3 separate regions of the Homo sapiens genome follow, and regions 2 and 3 are each linked to region 1. The links are contacts of gene promoters, found by promoter capture Hi-C in human tissues and cell types (Jung and others, 2019). All regions are on one chromosome and are shown on one strand. The core of a region is centred on a gene start or on the middle of the fragment in contact, and the rest is flanking DNA. Distances in the headings are between cores, read along the strand shown.

Region 1 (3,280 bases), core at 251-2,750:
ATACTGGGGATATAGGATACCATGGATTTTAGTTAATACATTTCCTCATAGAAAATAAGGAAATAACAGTCTTGTTCCTGTCCTAACAATTCTGTTAGACTAATGATCTCCAGTGATTGGCGATTTGACCTGGTTTCTTCCTGGACTATTTGAATGGGTGGATTTGTTGGTGCATCTCTTGTCTTCTTTCCTTTTCCATTCTCCTTTATTTTTGTATTTACATACTTGTATGCAACTTTGTAATCTGATTTTCCCATGTAACATTTTAATTTGATGGGTGGTCTGCGTGTTCACTGGAAAACATATATATATTAAATGTACATTTATGTATATATATAAAATATACATTCATATATATTATATATAATATACATTCATATATATTATATATAATATACATTCATATATCTATCTTTTATATATATATATAGACAAGATCTTGCTCTGTCGCCCAAGCTGGAGTGCAGTGGCATGACCACAGTTCACTGCAGCCTTGATTTCCTGGGCTCAAGCGATCCTCTCACCTCAGCCTCTTGAGTAGCTGGGACTATGGCACACACAACCACACGTGGTTCATTTTTTGTTGTTTTTTGTAGAGACAGGGTCTCACTCTGTTAACCCAGGCTGTTGTATTTTCTTTAAGATTGGTTTAAATTCACACGGACTCCAGCATCAGAACTACCCAGATGTCAGGTTCTGGGCAGAACTTGGGGCAACTGATGAAATGTCTGCTCAGCTGAAGTCAGACACCTGGACACTTAATGCCCTCTTTCCCTGGCTGATGCTCAGTTTCATTTAAGAACCAGGAGAGCCTGATGTTTGTAAACACAGCTTTAGTGGAAGCACGAGGGTTAGGAGTCCCTAGAAAGGTGATATGAAGCCTAGGTGGATGTGAGGGTTGGTGAGATGGGAATTGCACAGCATAGAATCTGACACAGAAGGTACTCAGAAAATTTCGTTTTCCGGCCTGGCGCGGTGGCTCACGCCTGTAATCCCAGCACTTTGGGAGGCTGAAGCGGGCAGATCATCTGAGGTCAGGAGTTCGAGACCAGCCTGGCCAACATGGTGAAACCCCGTCTCTACTAAAAATACTGTACTAAAAATACAAAAAAATTAGCTGGGCGTGGTGGCGGGCGCCTGTAATCCCAGCTACTCGGGAGGCTGAGGCAGAGAACTGATTGAACCTGGGAGGTGGAGGTTGCAGTGAGCCGAGATCACGCCACTGCACTTCAGCCTGGGTGACAGAGCGAGACTCCATCTCAAAAAAAAAAAAAAAAAAAAATTAGCAAGTTATTTGCAGCGTCTATCTCCCACCACCCTGACTGCTGGTCCACACCATACTGTCCCAAGCTTCTCAGGCTGCGGTGCAGACGAAGAAATCATCGCTATGCATGCTGGCCTTGGGATGGGGGCGCAAAGCCCCTGGACGCGCCCCGCCTAGTGGGCGGGAACGACTACAGCCCCCAGCATGACCCGCGGCCGCCCATGCCACGCCCCGCCACGCGTGCGCTTAGGCGCCGCTGAGCGCTGACTGGGTGCGAGTGGGGAAGCTGCTAACCCGACCCGGATTGGCGCTGAGGTGGCCCGTGGGGCAGGTGAGTGCGGGGCGGGAGTCAGCGGAGACCCACCGGCGCCTACAAGTTCCCCTCAGGCGGGGGCTGCGGGGCGGCTGTGGTCGGACTGTCCGACCGAGGGTCGTATGGGCCGAAGGCGCCCACGAGAGAAGCACCGCCTCGGGCCGGAGAGCCGCCGGGCCGACCTTGCTCGCGTCGCCGTTGGAATGGGGGCCGGGGACGCGGCGGGGCGGGGAGGTCGGCTGCGTCCTCCGGTGCGGCCGCCCCTAGACGGCCGAGGCCACCTCAGGTGTTCGGGGCGCCAGCCGGAATCCACCGCGCTGGCAGCCGGGAGCGGTTTTACGAAAACCGCGCCTGAGGCGGGGGGCTTTCTAAAAAGAGCCTGGCTGGCTCTGGCACCGGGACAGCTGCAGACTCCTCCTCAGGTTTAACTTGCGGTTTTCCCTTTAAGATTCAGATCCAGGTGCAGAACCCGGGCTCGGATCCAGGCCCGAGACTCGGAACACCGGTGTGTTTGCATTTTAGCACGGGGGAAACTGAGGCATACGTTAGCCAGAATCATCCGGTGTGGTTAGGACTGGAATTTTGAAAATTATTCTCATACTTAGTTTACTGACCTAGGCTCTTTTTTATTTGGAAAGAAAAATAAAGATGTTTCAAAGGTTGTTTTCAGTGACTGGGTGACTAGTGTATCTTCCAGTCTCACGCTGCACGTTTGTGGTGGGTTGATGGCTCTTTTTTGTTTTGCGGTGGGATAGAGATGTCCTGGAATGTTCTACACCTTTCTTATTCTTTCTTAGTAAATTCAAGTCAAATCAGACTCTGATTCACAAAAACTCATTTTCAACTTCGACTCGTTTACTCGTAGTTTTTGTGACAGGTTTGTGATTAGGTTTATAGGTACATATGTTTCCCGCTTTTCTTGCTCTTTTAGTTCCAATTATCTCTGCACTCTAAACAGTTGAATTACATCTTTGTTTTTACACTATTTCTGTTCTTGGTGATTAATTTGTAATTCTTCTTTTCTTTTCTTTTCTATTTTTTTTTTAAGACGGGAGTTTCGCTCTTGCCCGGGCTGGAGTGCAATGACATGATCTCGGCTCACTGCAAGCTCCGCCTCCCGGATTCAAGTGATTCTCCTGCCTCAGCCTACCGAGTAGCTGGGATTACAGGCGCCCGCCACCACGCCCGGCTAATTTGTGTATTTTTAATAGAGACGGGGTTTTTCGCCATGTTGGCCAGGCTGGTCTCGAACTCCTGACCACAGGTGATCCGCCCGTCTCGGGCCTCCCAAAGTGCTGGGATTACAGGCGTGAGCCACTGCGCCAGGCCCGATTAATTTGTAATTCTATAGATATCTTTCCTGGCTTTTGATAATCCTAAGTGAATGTAGCTTTTTCATCCCTAATTATCATAGTAGCCTGAGCTTTAGTTCTTCTCCCTGTCCCCCCCCCCTTTTTTTTTTTTTTTTTTTTTTGAGACGGAGTCTCGCTCTGTTGCCCAGGCTGGAGTGCAGTGGCGCGATCTCGGCTCACTGCAAGCTCTGCCTCCCGGGTTCACGCCATTCTCCTGCCTCAGCCTCCCGAGTAGCTGGGACTATAGGTGCCCGCCACCACACCCGGATAATTTTTTGTATTTTTAGTAGAGACGGGGTTTCACCGTGTTAGCCAGATGGTCTCGATCTCCTGACCTCGTGATCTGCCCGC
Region 2 (3,119 bases), core at 540-3,039, 71 kb before region 1:
AAAAGCATGTTTTTAAATATTATAGATTTTAACTAACATTAAGCTTAGTGTGTGAATCAGGAGTTACAATCACCAGAGAAATTGACATCTTAGGCATTGTTCATGAAAGCACAGCTTTTAACAGAATGCTTAGGGTCTACTTGGTGTTAGACTACTCTAGAAAATACCTTTCTGTTCTTGGCTCTTCACCAAGAAATGGAAGGAGATACAGGTGAAAGAACTGATCATATTGAGCCTGAAGATGAGATGCAAGGGAACTGTAATCATTGTCTGAAGACATTTGAAGAATCAGCCTGTGGAATAATGTGAACATTTATGGAGGACATCTCTAAGCATTTGACATTGATTAACTCATAAAATCTAATAATGACTGAAGTTAATATTGTTGTCATTCCAGTTGGAGATCAGGAAAGTAAGGGTCAGAAAGGCTAAATGAGTAACTTGCTCTGAGTCAGCTTAGAAATGGCAGAGCTGGGGCCGGGCGCGGTGGCTCACGCCTGTAATCTCAGCACTTTGGGAGGCCGAGGCGGGCGGATCATGAGGTCAGGAGATTGAGACCATCCTGGCTAACACGGTGAAACCCCGTCTCTACTAAAAATACCAAAAATTAGCCGGGCGCAGTGGCGGGCGCCTGTAGTCCCAGCTACTCGGGAGGCTGAGGCAGGAGAATGGCGTGAACCCAGGAGGTGGAGCTTGCAGTGAGCCAAGATAGCGCCACTGCACTCCAGCCTGGGTGAAAGAGCGAGACTCCGTCTCAAAAAAAAAAAAGAAATGGCAGAGCTGGGTTGGGAGCGGTGGCTCATACTTGTAATCACAACACTTTGAGAGGATGGCTTGAGCCCAGGAGTTTGAGACCAGCCGGGAGGTCAAGGCTGCAGTGAGCCATGATCACGCCACTGCATTCCAGCCTGGGTGACAGAGTGAGACCCTGTCTCAAAAAAAAAAAAACAAAAAAAAAAAAAAAACAAAACTGGGGAGGCAGGCAGAGCTGGGATTACAAACCCAGGCAGTCTGCCTCTAGAACTAAAGTCTTTTTTTTTTTTTTTTGAGATGGAATTTCACTCTTGTTGCCCATGCTGGAGTGCAATGGCACCATCTTGGCTCACCACAACCTCCGCCTCCCAGCTTGAGGCAATTCTCCTGCCTCAGCCTCCCTAGTAGCTGGGATTACAGGCATGCGCCATCACACCCAGCTAATTTTGTATTTTTAGTAGAGACGGGGTTTCTGCATGTTGGTCAGGCTGGTCTTGAACTCTTGACCTCAGGTAATCCACCCACCTCAGCCTCCTGAAGTGCTGGGATTACAGGCGTGAGCCACCACACCCAGCTCTAAAGTCTTTTTTTAACCTTTTTATTTTTTTAAAGAGATGATAGCTCGCTATGTTGCCCAGGTGTTCTCAATCTCCTAGGCACAAGCTAGTCCCCCAAACTGCTGGGATTACAGGTGTGAGCCACTGTGCCCAGCCTCTAGGACTAAATTCTTGGCCATTGTGCTACACTACTTGGCACTCACGGACACGTTCTTAAGCTTGTTCTCCATGGCCCCAACTAGTCCAGTGGGTTCAGTAGATGAGGGTGCAGGGAAACTCACTTCTTCTTACTTAAATCATCTTAGAGGAGCAAACCAAAGATAGGAGGGAATCCTCTGTCGCCAGAGCTTCCTGCAGCCTCGCCTAGCTCACTCCTGAGAACAGGGAGAAGGACCCTGCCGGGTCAGTGACCTTCCAGGCTCTTTGATGCTGGCTCTTTTTTTACACTGCCACTCTGTGGGTGTTTGCTATCAGAAGCCATGCATTGAAACTCATGTCTTCTATTTACAAGTTAATATATTTGTCTTACTTGTAGCACAGAAATACTTTCACGTAAGTATTATTTATTAGCTTTATGCAATGTAGCATGTTTTGTTTTATGGCACATTTCCAGTAATAATTTCTTGGTTGGATAAAAGCCATATTGTCATCAATTTTTTTTTCTTGAAGATGTTTTCCTGAATATAAAATTTATACTTTTTATTGTAGAAAATTGGAAAGTCTAAGAAGAAAATTTAAAAACTGTTGTAATCTCACTGCTCCAAGATAATCATTGTTAACCCTTGAGTGTATTTTTCCTGTTATATATTTTTCACAGAAAAGTTTGACAACTCTTGCTTTAGATTCATCAAGATTCTTTTCACAGAAAAACAGTTTTATTTTGATAAATTCTGAAGATTCCTTTTCTTTTCTTTCTTTTTTATTTTTTTGGCTAGGTTTCTGCCTCAATGCTCAAGCAGTTTCCCAACAGTGGCCTGAGTCCAGGTCTTTTCAATGTGGGGCCCCAGTTATCTCCTCAACAAATTGCCATGCTGAGCCAGCTTCCACAAATTCCCCAGTTTCAGTTGGTAAGTAGAAGATTTTCTTCCTGTGGCTAAAAAGGTCATTTGCTTTTTTTTTTTCTTTAGCTTTGATTTGCTTCCCACATCTTTGCCACTTTCTATGTTCAAAGGGTGCTAGTCCACACTTCTTTGCAAACTATGGAGTGTGCTTAAGGGTTGTCAGCTCAACTGGAGGAAAATGTAACCAAGAGACCGGGAATTTGGTGTTACTTCCCTCCTGGATACTTTTGATTGTGTGACCTGTACTTCAGTGCACAGACCCTTTAGGTGTCCTCAGTAAATCAATCTCAGGAAACTTTGGTTTTCTGTCTTTCCCCCTTGTTTTGTAGGCATGTCAGCTTCTCTTGCAGCAGCAGCAACAGCAGCAGTTGTTACAGAACCAGAGAAAGATTTCTCAAGCTGTACGCCAACAGCAAGAGCAGCAGGTACGTGGGTAGGCAGGGTCCCTCCAGTGCTGTGTTGGAGGAGTACATCCCGGCTTAGCCTCTGATGGCAAAGAACCGGGCACAGTCTTTTCCTGGGAAGTTCGGGGCCGTGCTTATCACGTGTCTGTCTCTCTTGGCCCTCAGCTGGCTCGAATGGTGAGTGCACTGCAGCAGCAGCAGCAGCAGCAGCAGAGGCAGCCAGGCATGAAGCACTCGCCCTCTCATCCTGTTGGGCCCAAGCCGCATCTGGACAACATGGTACCCAACGCATTGAATGTGGGGCTCCCAGACCTTCAAACCAAAGGGCCAATACCTGGATATGG
Region 3 (3,350 bases), core at 582-3,081, 110 kb before region 1:
ACTAGGTTTCACAATGTCGGCCAGGATGGTCTCGATCTCCTGACCCTGTGATCTACCCACCTCGGCCTCCCAAAGTGCTGGGATTACAGGCGTGAGCCATCGCGCCTGGCCGACTAATTTTATTTTCTTAAGTCACACATTTATTCTGCTCATCAGATTTTGGATCCTCTGACCTCCACTCCCCCTCCCCTTACTGGGAGGCCTGGTGCTGCCTTGTGATTAGCTGAGGTTAGACATGGGGTTACCTGGAAATTGCTGCAGGCACCTGCTCTTTTCTCCTGTCACCCACAGTATGTTAATGTCCAGTAGTGGCATAGATTGGGCCGCCTGATTTCTGATGATGTATCTCTCTCATAAAGGAGCCAGTTCAGCAAGCAACATGCTGGCCCCGCATCATTTTAGCAGTCAAAGCAGTACTACCCCCAGAGTTGGCCCTGACGTTACCCTGGGAGGCAGGGATTTGGGCCTCAGAATCATCCGAACTGTCAGGCTTGATGATTATTTCTGTACGACTTCCAGCCTCTATTTGCCAGGTAGATTTTTATGGAGAGGGTAGTGATCTTCTGGCAGCATGCAGCGAGGGAGGTACAGATCTAAGAGAGCCTTCTCTGTATGTTCGACGGGAAGAGCCAGAGGGTCCGGCAGAGTGCGGTTTCACGGTTGCCCCGACATTCCCACGCTGTGTGCGGGCCATTTTTAAAATTAAGTTTAAAAAAATCAAATGATTTAAAGTAAACAGAAAAAGTATTTACATTTTGAAATTTCTATTTTAAAGAATTGGGAAGAAACACTTTTTTTTTTTTTTAAAGAAAAGCAAAAAGATTTGTAACATTTCTAGTATTTACACAGAGAGCGGTGCAAGTCTTTGAGTCCAGGTAGCTGTAGAAACCAGAACCAAGCTGAGTTTGTGATTTTCTAGGCCTGGAGTTTCTTGTAAGAGTCCACTCTGTGCCATGCCCTAAGGAAGAAAGAAAAGATGAAAGATGGGTCCTTGCCCTCAGGAAGTCATGGCCTGGTGAGGGAGAAGGACTTGTAAATGGAGAATTTCTGTGATAGAGAGAGATGGGACTTGTAGATGGAGAATTTCGGTGGTAGAGATAGATGGATTTTTGAATGGAGAATTTTCATGGTAGAGAGAGATGGATGATGTGTTCCAGGAGCACTTAGGAAGAATGTTTAGCCCATCTAGGCCAGGGGCTTCAATAAAGTTTACTCAGGGGTAGATCTTTTAAGAATGTGGATGAAGGGAAGGGACCCTTGGACTGAGGCTTGAAACCTTTCCCAAGGACTTTGCCATGGACATTTAACTCTTCTAGGCAGCACTTCAGGGAATTAATTCCACTGTTGATTTAGGGGAGTGAATGTTGATTGCTTCCCTCTCCGCCTTAATTAATGGAATGTATTCCATGACCTTGCTGTGTTTAAATTCTTGTCACTGTCAGCCGCCACCTTCATCCTACCTTCAGCAAACTGGAGAGATTGTGGAGAATTTGGAAAAACTGTTTCCCTTGAGAGTAGAGTAAAAGGAGAAGTTACTTTGTTAGAATTGGTACCATGTAAGCTTTCTTACAAATAATCTTAGCCAGGGTCTGGGTGTGGTGGCTCACACCTGTAATCCCAGCACTTTGGGAGGCCGAGGTGGGTAAATAGCTTGAGTTCAGGAGTTCGAGACCAGTCTAGGTAGGCAACATGGCAAAACCCTGTCTCTAGAGGAGGAAAAAAAAATTAGTTGGGCATAGTGGTGTATGCATTGTAGTCCCAGCTACTCAAGAGGCTGAGGTGGGAGGATCACTTGAGCCCTGGAGGTAGAAGTTGCAGCAAGCCAAGATCACTGCACTCCAGCCCGAGTTATACAGCAAGACCTCATCTCAAAAAAATAAAAAATAGGCTGGGTGCAGTGGCTCATGCCTGTAATCTCAACACTTTGGGAGGCCAAGGCAGGCGGATCATGAGGTCAGGAGTTCAAGACCAGCCTGGTCAACATAGTGAAAACCTGTCTGTACTAAAAATACAAAAAATTAGCTGGTTTTGGTGGTGGGCGCCTGTAATCCGAGCTACTTGGGAGGCTGAGGCAGGAGAATTGCTTGAACCTGGGAGGCGGAGGTTGCAGTGAGCGGAGATTGCACCACTGCACTCCAGCCTGGGCGACACTCACACTGGGTGACAGTGTGAGACTCCGTCTCAAAAATAAATAAATAAATAAATAAATAATAATCTTGGCCAGGCACAGTGGCTCACTCTTGTAATTCTAGCACTTTGGAAAGCCAAGGTGGGAGAGTCCCTTGAGCCCGAGTTCAAGACCAGCATGGGCAACATGGCAAGACCCCATCTCTAAATAAAATAATAAAATTATTTTTAAAATTTTTAGAAAAAATGTATTTGATGTATTTCAAAGACTGTTTCCCAACCCCTCTCTTTTAGTGCCCGAAGTGACGAAACCAAGTTTAAGCCAACCAACGGCCGCCAGCCCAATTGGCAGCTCTCCATCGCCACCAGTCAATGGTGGCAACAATGCCAAAAGGGTGGCAGTGCCGAACGGACAACCGCCAAGCGCCGCCCGCTACATGCCTCGGGAGGTGCCGCCGCGATTCCGTTGCCAGCAGGACCACAAAGTGTTACTAAAACGTGGGCAGCCCCCTCCACCGTCCTGCATGCTCCTTGGGGGTGGGGCAGGGCCTCCTCCCTGCACAGCACCTGGAGCAAACCCAAACAACGCACAAGTGACAGGAGCGCTGCTGCAGAGTGAGAGTGGGACTGCGCCAGGTAAGGCACCCTGTGAATCGAATGCATGGCAGCTTGACAGAGAGAGAGCACTTTGTTTGCATTGCTTGATGTAAAGTCCAGGAAAGCCATTCATTATATAAACCACTGGGATTAGTCAAAAGATGAGAGAGGATCCTAGTATGCGATGTGTATTGGTGATTCTTGGAACTGAGGTTTAGTGTTCCGTAAGTGTGTGCTCTTGGCATAAGGGCTAACTTAACTGCTGTTGCTTATTATTTTGGGGGCCTTTTTTCCTTCTCAGACTAGAGTGTTACAAATTTGAGCCTCCATAGTTCCACCGTCATATGTGTTCAGGGCATAATTGGACATGGGGCTTGTGCGAAGGCGAATCTTTAGATGCCTGTGTTATGTTTCCAGAATGCTAGGAGGATAGAGAAAATGATTTGCTACATTGCAATATAGAATCTTCGGAGGATTCTAAAATAATACTATAGTTTTTAAATTAGATTTTTAAACTCAGTATTTCTTTTTGTGGGCCCTGGATTTTGAGCTTTGTTAAAAACTGTATGTAGAAATAAGGGATATTTAGCTGAAAGGTTCTACTAGAAGTTTTGAGAGTTTTTGGC

What was found. The method cuts DNA at HindIII sites, captures the fragments that hold promoters and counts their contacts. A contact is called where the count stands out against the background at its distance.
Region 2: a fragment that was not itself captured here is called in contact with the fragment with the promoter of SGSM3 in region 1 in 6 of the 25 tissues and cell types used here (H1 embryonic stem cells, IMR-90 fibroblasts, dorsolateral prefrontal cortex and 3 more).
Region 3: a fragment that was not itself captured here is called in contact with the fragment with the promoter of SGSM3 in region 1 in 2 of the 25 tissues and cell types used here (IMR-90 fibroblasts and pancreas).

What each region holds. Positions count from the first base shown.
Region 1 is chr22:40,369,094-40,372,373 of GRCh38, forward strand. SGSM3 (small G protein signaling modulator 3) reads left to right here and starts at 1,501. Exons shown (of 22, transcript NM_015705.6): 1 at 1,501-1,595. It overlaps ADSL (adenylosuccinate lyase), which reads left to right. Exons shown (of 13, transcript NM_000026.4): 13 at 1-274. RefSeq lists an enhancer at 1,187-1,396 and silencers at 1,547-1,656, 1,717-1,886. The HindIII fragment of the contact is 4,461 bases long and covers 1-3,280 here.
Region 2 is chr22:40,298,210-40,301,328 of GRCh38, forward strand. It overlaps TNRC6B (trinucleotide repeat containing adaptor 6B), which reads left to right. Exons shown (of 23, transcript NM_001162501.2): 13 at 2,246-2,377; 14 at 2,701-2,796; 15 at 2,941-3,119. Among named protein-coding and RNA genes, the nearest start is that of ADSL, 47 kb to the right of the region's middle. The HindIII fragment of the contact is 7,080 bases long and covers 1-3,119 here.
Region 3 is chr22:40,259,411-40,262,760 of GRCh38, forward strand. TNRC6B (trinucleotide repeat containing adaptor 6B) reads left to right here. Exons shown (of 23, transcript NM_001162501.2): 4 at 2,422-2,763. It overlaps LOC124905121 (a long non-coding RNA gene), which reads right to left. Exons shown (of 2, transcript XR_007068107.1): 2 at 1-958. Among named protein-coding and RNA genes, the nearest start is that of TNRC6B, 83 kb to the left of the region's middle. The HindIII fragment of the contact is 8,779 bases long and covers 1-3,350 here.